2 separate regions of the Homo sapiens genome follow, and region 2 is linked to region 1. The links are contacts of gene promoters, found by promoter capture Hi-C in human tissues and cell types (Jung and others, 2019). All regions are on one chromosome and are shown on one strand. Each heading gives the region's core, a stretch centred on a gene start or on the middle of the fragment in contact. The rest is flanking DNA. Distances are from core to core; before and after follow the strand shown.

Region 1 (3,586 bases), core at 810-3,309:
GATTCAAAACAGCATCGTGAACTTGTGTGTAAAATTAACAAAGCTACTCAACATCAAGAAAGAATAACACAAGTTCGCTTTAATTGAGAAAGAATGAACTCATCCTTGAGAGAGATACAATAGAAATTTATGAGGATTTGCAGTAGCCATTTCTGTCTGAAGCAGCCAGTATTCTTGATTTGGTTTCTATTCCATATTAGAAAACAGAACAAAACATTTACGGGTAGCACCATTTTAATAGAGATCAGGCTGATCTCAGTTTTGAAATTTGGAAACAAATTTAAGTTCCTCCAAGTCTAGTGTGATTTGACATCTTTTGTGGTAATGTCCCATGAAGAGCTCATTCACATGGCCATGCCATCAAGTACATGAAATACTTTATTATTCAGACTACAATGTCAAGTAAGTACCTTTTGACTCAGAAATGAATGGGGGATGTAGTGTAGACCTGTTGTGGTGTAAAATGAATATAAAACCACCATTCCTTGCTCTGGTCTCCTCTGAGAATAAATCTCATAGCCTCAAGTCAATAGATCTCATTTTCTTGTTAGTTCTTACCCGAAGCACAGCTCCAAATTCCCTTTCAAGGAGGTTCTTCAGGTCTTTCTTAGTTAATGCTGCTCCATCACAATCATGAGAGACATACTGATTGAAAATTTCAGTGATGTCACAGATGCTTCTCAGAAGTGGAGACATTTTTTTTTCTTTCCTTCAAGTTCAAGTAAACCTAGAACAATAAAATAAGATCCAGAATCAAAATCCCGTTTCTGCTTTTGGGAAGGCTTCATTCACACTATTTCAGGCAGATCCCTAAATAATTTGAATTTATAGCGGTAATTTCAACCTGGACTTTCAGAGCACTTTAATATTTGAATATTGTATCAGAAAGAGAAAGAGCGATCCTGAGAAATTCCAAGCCAGGGAATCATCTTCAGACTATCCTGTTGTCAGCTTTTGATTGTCCACCCAATGTGGATTATCTATGCCCTTTTCTTCTGTCTTTCTTCCAGCTCTCCACCGTATTTCAGAGTAGAAAATTAAGAGAAGAGTGCAGAAATTAAAATTTTATATATGTCTACACACCTTCCTTTAAAGTTGAGCGAAGAGGACAGGTAAAAGCCAAAAGGTGAAGGAAGACTTGAGAGTATCTTAAAGTGGATAGAGGCCATGTCAGCAAAACAGTTGGTAGAAAATAGAACAATGAAAAGGGAATATGAATGATTCCTCAACATTACAGTCCATAAAGGATTTAGGAACTCTTATAGAATATAATTTGTAAGTCAGCAATTCTAAGATTAAATAGTACTTCTTCCTAGTCAAAAGATGGCATTGTAACATTCAGATACACAAATGCAGAAAACAGAGACTGTATATTACCTGCCTCAACTCAGATATAGTAAGATATTCGGATATTGAAGTATTGAAAGCTTCTGAGAGGTCCTTTCTAAACCAAACGGAATCCAGAAAACTGTGAATGATATTGGTTTTGTTAAACCCAAATGCATCATTGGAATCTTGGCTTTTTATAAAACATTAGCCAGCAGTAGATCAATGTTATAAGAATACATGGAATGGCTTTGCTGGTGGGATAAGTGTAGTCGTTCATCTAGCTGACTTCTTTATGTACTTCTCAACTCCAGTACCTTAAATGCTGTGACTGTATGAAGATGGCCCATATTAGGTAGAACCAATGTAAAAGAGAACAGAAGGCTGGCAAACTTTTGAGATAGCAGTTTTTAGGAAGATGAACCCTATCAGAGCCACACATGATCATCCTTGATGTGCAGAAGTATAGAGTTCAGAGCCCAAGGAGAAGGGTCATGCTTCAGTTCAAGTGATGGCTCCAACCATAAGAAGATGGGATAGAGTTAGTGATAGTTTATTTATCCCTGCAAAATACTGATACCTTCTGGCACATGGAACCTCCCCCCATATCCCAACATCTGAAATAGCTATAAAAATGGAGAATCATAAAGAAGACCACGATCCCACAGAATGGGACTTACCCACTTCACCAGAGGAAGAAGTCGACAGTGCTTGCTGACACCACAGGCAAGTGTACTGGGTAACTGGGAGCTGGGCCTTTTATAGGGGTTTTAATTGTGCCCTGGAAAGCAACTTGGGAAGGAGACACCCACTCTGTGGGATGGCCTGATTCATTCCTAACCAAGCCCAGCTCCACCTCTGTCTCCACAAATGGCTTGTTTATCTCACTATTTGCTCACGTAGCTATTTGGCACGAGGTTCACAGACCTTGCCTCCTGACAGTCAGGGTACCAGCCCCACCTAACATGGGAGGGTAGAATATTTGGCAGAATCTCCAATTTTCTTAAATTGTTAAAAGTAAATTAAATAATAAAACAAAGGTATTAAATGTTCACAATCTTAATTGATTATTACTTCATTACAAAGGAGTAAACTCTAAGCCATTTGCTTTATAAAAGATACAATCTCTAGTTTGGGATTAAGCAGAAACTTTGAAATAAAGTGATGAAAACCAATTAATTTCTCCATGGGATGTGACAGTCCATGGTGAGCTGCTCATAAGCCCTGCCAGAAGCAGTTGCTTCAATTCTAGGGCAATGAGAGAGCTGTAAAGAATTGGTTAGTTTCTTCTCTAAAAATGCAGGTGGGAAAAATTTTTACATTTGTCTCCCGGGTCTTATGATGGTTTTCCTACAGATTGGGGACTGCCTCCTCAGTAAAGTTTGGAAGGGTACCTTGGAAATATATTTTTATTAAACCGTTCATAAGAAAACTTGAAATCTGTGAAATTTCATTCTTAGAGACATTAAACCTAAATGAAGTTTGTTCATTAGTTTTCTCATTAGCATATTGATGCCCCTGGGGAAAAAGAGCTGGTGTAATGTATTATTGTAGATATAATCATCCTGCTCAGCCTAAGTTACTAATGATTATGACACCTAAACACTTGAGTCTGCTTCTCCTGGAAGTACATTGAGGTAATTGGTCATTCTAGCCCATTATATCCATCAGGGCTTTCTCAATCTGGTTGATCATTTGCAAATTTCAGTGCTGTTTTATTGTAAGGAATTGGATTTTATCCATGGTTGTCAGTGACTTCCTTCCTTACATTTCAGACTATATGAAACTTTGGTTCATAATTTATGAAGACTATTAAATGATTCAATGGCTTCTCTGCACTTTTGTCTCCTCCTTTGTCCAACAGAGGCAAGTGTTGGTTTTCTGAATTTTGAGGCAACTGAACGTCCTTCAATGGCATGAGTGAAAATTTGGAATCTAAATCTTGATGGCTATTTCTTTATGTGCAGATTGGTCTAAATGATAATGGAGTTGAACTCTATTTGCCCCCTCACTTGCTGCCATCCTAGATGTGGGGTACAGAGGAAGGTAGAAGTGACAGGGAATGGGAAGACAATTATAAGCAATGCTAATTTCTGCCTCTTAAGGACTTCAACACTGAAGTCTACAATTTAGTGGTTTTCCTAGGACTGTCAGAACTGTCACTATTTCTTGGGCTCAGTTAACAAACTTGATGTGGCAATTCCTTGGTGAAGGGTGAAGACTTCTCATTTTTCCCCTTCTTTTTAGGGTTTTATGCAGC
Region 2 (3,586 bases), core at 631-3,130, 44 kb before region 1:
CATCACCGAGATATTAAGCCCAGCACCCATTGGCTACTCTTCCTGATGCTCTCCCTCCCACAGCTCCCCCTCCACCCACGTTTACTGCAGACATTCTGTAGGATTCTCTTAGAGATAGCCGGTTCTATCATCTTGTTAATGGCTATGAGGTGAGCAGTACTGGAGAAATCTTTAATAGCCTGTGGATATGACAAAGAGTTTGAAGAGCTATAAAATCAGATAAGTGAATACAGGCAAATGTATTTCCTGAGGAGCATGGTAGCTCTTTTTTTTTTGCTGCTCACCCTGATTTTGAGAATAGCTCCACAAGGAGACACCTTTCCTGTGTGGGGGGATACTGGGGCCATAGGCTACTGCTATTTCCCAAAGCAAAACAAGCCTGGATCCTAAATCTTTTTTACATCTAATTTGGTTTGTTTGTTTTTAAGTCTCCCACATGACTTCTAAAATTGTATGTAATAAAGACACTTTGAGCTTTTCCTGATGTCTGTAATAAAAATATAAAATGTCTTCTCTTCAGTTTCTCTCCTGAACATCCCCATGGCCCTGGGGAGTTTATTTTTCTAGAATGTCTAAAGTGTATTATTTATTCAAAACAAAACAAAACAAAACAAAATAGTTTCTATGAGGAAATATTCTAGATACTTGACTCAATAATATTTCATTATTTTTGAATTTGTGTAGGAAACTCTTTCTTGCCCGTATTCAGACAGCCCAAGGCATGGGTGACTACTGAAGGAGGAGGAGGCAGGTCTTTCTCCCTGTGTGTCTAAAGGGCAGGAGCCTGATGAACTGGCTCCGTGTGGTCATTAGTTGCCGTTAGAGTGATTAATAAGAGTAACAGAGATAATTATAATTCTTGCTTTGAAAAGCCTTGCTTTTGAGAGGAATTATCCTTGTGCAAATGTCTCCCCACCCTCTTGGTAAATCGTCTTTGGCAGCCAGACCTGTAGCTTCTGGGTTTGCCTGTGGTCTCCGGGCTGCTGTTGCTGACACACCTGGTCTGCTGCCCGTCTCTCCTGAGTTTGGCTCATCTGATTCCTGGGCCTTCTTGCTTTTCTCCACTCTTTCTCATTTTCTGATGGTCTCTCTCTGTTCTCTTTTCCGTCTTCCTTTTGTCTTCCCCCCTTTCAACATTTCAATCTCTTTCTGTTTCTCATTGTCCCTTTCTTTGTGTGCCTTTTCTTACCTCTGTCTCTTCTACCTCTCTATTCCCACCCCATTTGTTTCAGACCTGAAGTCTCCATTCAGTTTGATCTTCCCTTTCGTTCTTTTACCTAAAAATTTATTAGTTTCTATCAGGGAAAATAAAAGACAAGTAGATTGAAAATGAATGCATCCAGTTCTTGCTATGAGAAGGGAAAGAGACGCTTACTGTGTGTCCACACCAGGCGATAGCCTGCCATAGTCACACAATGGGGAGGCCTGCTTGGTGCCAGGGCCCATGCTTACCACCCACACTGCCTGTACAAACAGGACATTTTCTGACCCAGAGTCCATGTGCAATGGTGACAGAATGACTTCTGTGGTGACACTCTTCTGATGACGTGGTCTTTGCCCCTCAGCGTCAAGGTTTGTCTTGACACTGCCTGGGAGGAGTTTCCTGGAAAGTGTCCACAGCCATGATTACAGATAAGAGGAGACTGCCAGAGTCATTTGAAGGCATCAAGTTGTCTGTAGGAGAAGCTTGGTGATTGGAGGAGTTGCTGCTGGGGTGGCTATCCTGAGTGCACATTTGGACTTTGCCTGCTCTGTGACCTCAGGCATCTTACCAAATCCCTCTGAGCCTCAGCAGTGGGATCTAGTGGTCACCATTTCTTGGATGTGTCATAAGGATACGGTGTGGCTCAGGGAAGCACTGGATTATAATGTGTTTTAAGCTCATTCTGAAGAAAAGCACCGTGCAAATCCCAGTTATTATGTTTATTATGAGGTTCAGCATGATTAAATGCAAAGAATTTGTTCCATCTGAATGAGGCTTTTAAAAATACACTGGGGCCAGTAATTACAGAAATGTAGGCTCCCCTAAACATGTTCCCAATTAGGAAGGGATGTAACTGAATGAACTGGGGCATGGCGGGGGACTCTCAGATCCTTGACATGTTCTTGGTCAGCTCAGTCAAGCTTTTCTTGATCAGAAAATGGAAAAAAGCAGAAAATTCTCATCCCTTGTGTCTTTCTTAGAAGAAGATAATAAACCCAGTGGCCAAAGAATGTTAACATTTAACTGATTTTCCTTATGTATCAGGACCTTTTTCTGAAACTATGATTGTTAAGGATTTTAAGTAAGACCCAAATCAGTATGGGGTATGATTTTCTTGTTTGTGATTAAAACATATGGAAGTAATTATAGATCTCAAAGTAATTTTTATTTATACACAAATAATACATACGTTCCTGATCCTTGAAAAAATTGAAACATTACTTGATGACATCTAAGACTTCTTTGACTACTACTGTCTCTCCTGATTCCCTTTTACTTTTCTCAGAGGCAATGACCATTATCAGTTTGGTGTTTTTCTTTCTGAGCTTTTCCGTCTTTAGAAGTAGAGAAAACCAAGGTGGACATGGTACGCAAGTCTCCACATGGTTTTCTTCTGTGGTTTAGCCTCATCTCCTGGGCCAGATCATATGCTTCTTGAGACCAGAAACCACATGAACTCCTTGATCTGATTCCACACCACTCCCAGGCCTGGAATAGAATCATGGAGAAGTGAGGGGAATGGTGAGGAACAGTTAACTAAACGCTTGTTTGAGAAAAATTATTGTCCTGCAGTTTACTCAAATAGAGCTAGTAACTCGGCTGGGCAAGTTTCAGATTCTGTGTTTCAAAACCACCTCAACCCACCCAGTGGAAACCAGAATATTCTCATGGCTTTACAAAAACGCCTGAGCTTTAAGCTTGATCTAAAGGGCTCAGCAAAGAAGCATTGCTCCTGAGAGGCTTCCTGTCTGCCTCAAGCTCCCTGTCTCAGCCTCCAGGTAGCCTCATCCTCATGCTCCACTTGCCCAGACATGGACCTCAAAGAAACTCCTGTCCACCTTCTTGGGGGTCCCTTCAGGGGTAGTTGTGTGTCATCAGCCACCCTCAGAGTTGGCTCTGAAACATTCCCCGGTTTCTCCTTCAGTGGTTTGTGGAGGTCAGGAAGAAATGCATGTGATATTTTCTGAAGGTTCTGGACAATCCTAATGTTGTCATGAAGCCTGCTGGCCCCTTTAGGCAACATACACACCCAGACATATATCGATAGTGATGGAAGAATTCCATCTTTTCTTCAAATTCTCTTCTCTATTTTTACTTTCTTTCCTTAAAATGGTGCCTAGGATGGGTCCTTGTGGAAAGGACAGTGCTGGGGTTGCAACTCCTATCTCAGTGCTTTGACAAGCCCTCAAGAAATAAGGTTTATGGCTGTTTTTAGGAGACTCCATCACAGGCCCTCCTCACCATCCAGGCTTCTCTCCTGTTTGCCCATATCTGGAATAGGACTGACTGTACTCCTGGCTCTCTGAGCACCACACCCTCTCGCCTGCCTCCATGCCTTTGTTAATGCTGGTCCTTTCGGCCTGAGAGGAACCAGGCCCATCC

What was found. Contacts are between HindIII fragments. The study calls those that stand out against the background at their distance.
Region 2: a contact is called between a fragment that was not itself captured here and the fragment with the promoter of TCHH in region 1, in 3 of the 25 tissues and cell types used here (H1 embryonic stem cells, adrenal gland and thymus).

Annotation. Positions count from the first base shown.
Region 1 is chr1:152,113,385-152,116,970 of GRCh38, forward strand. It overlaps TCHH (trichohyalin), which reads right to left and starts at 2,060. Exons shown (of 3, transcript NM_007113.4): 1 at 2,007-2,060; 2 at 559-727. The coding sequence starts at 696. The HindIII fragment of the contact is 12,190 bases long and covers 1-3,586 here.
Region 2 is chr1:152,069,664-152,073,249 of GRCh38, forward strand. No RefSeq gene overlaps it. Among named protein-coding and RNA genes, the nearest start is that of TCHHL1, 18 kb to the right of the region's middle. The HindIII fragment of the contact is 3,370 bases long and covers 196-3,565 here.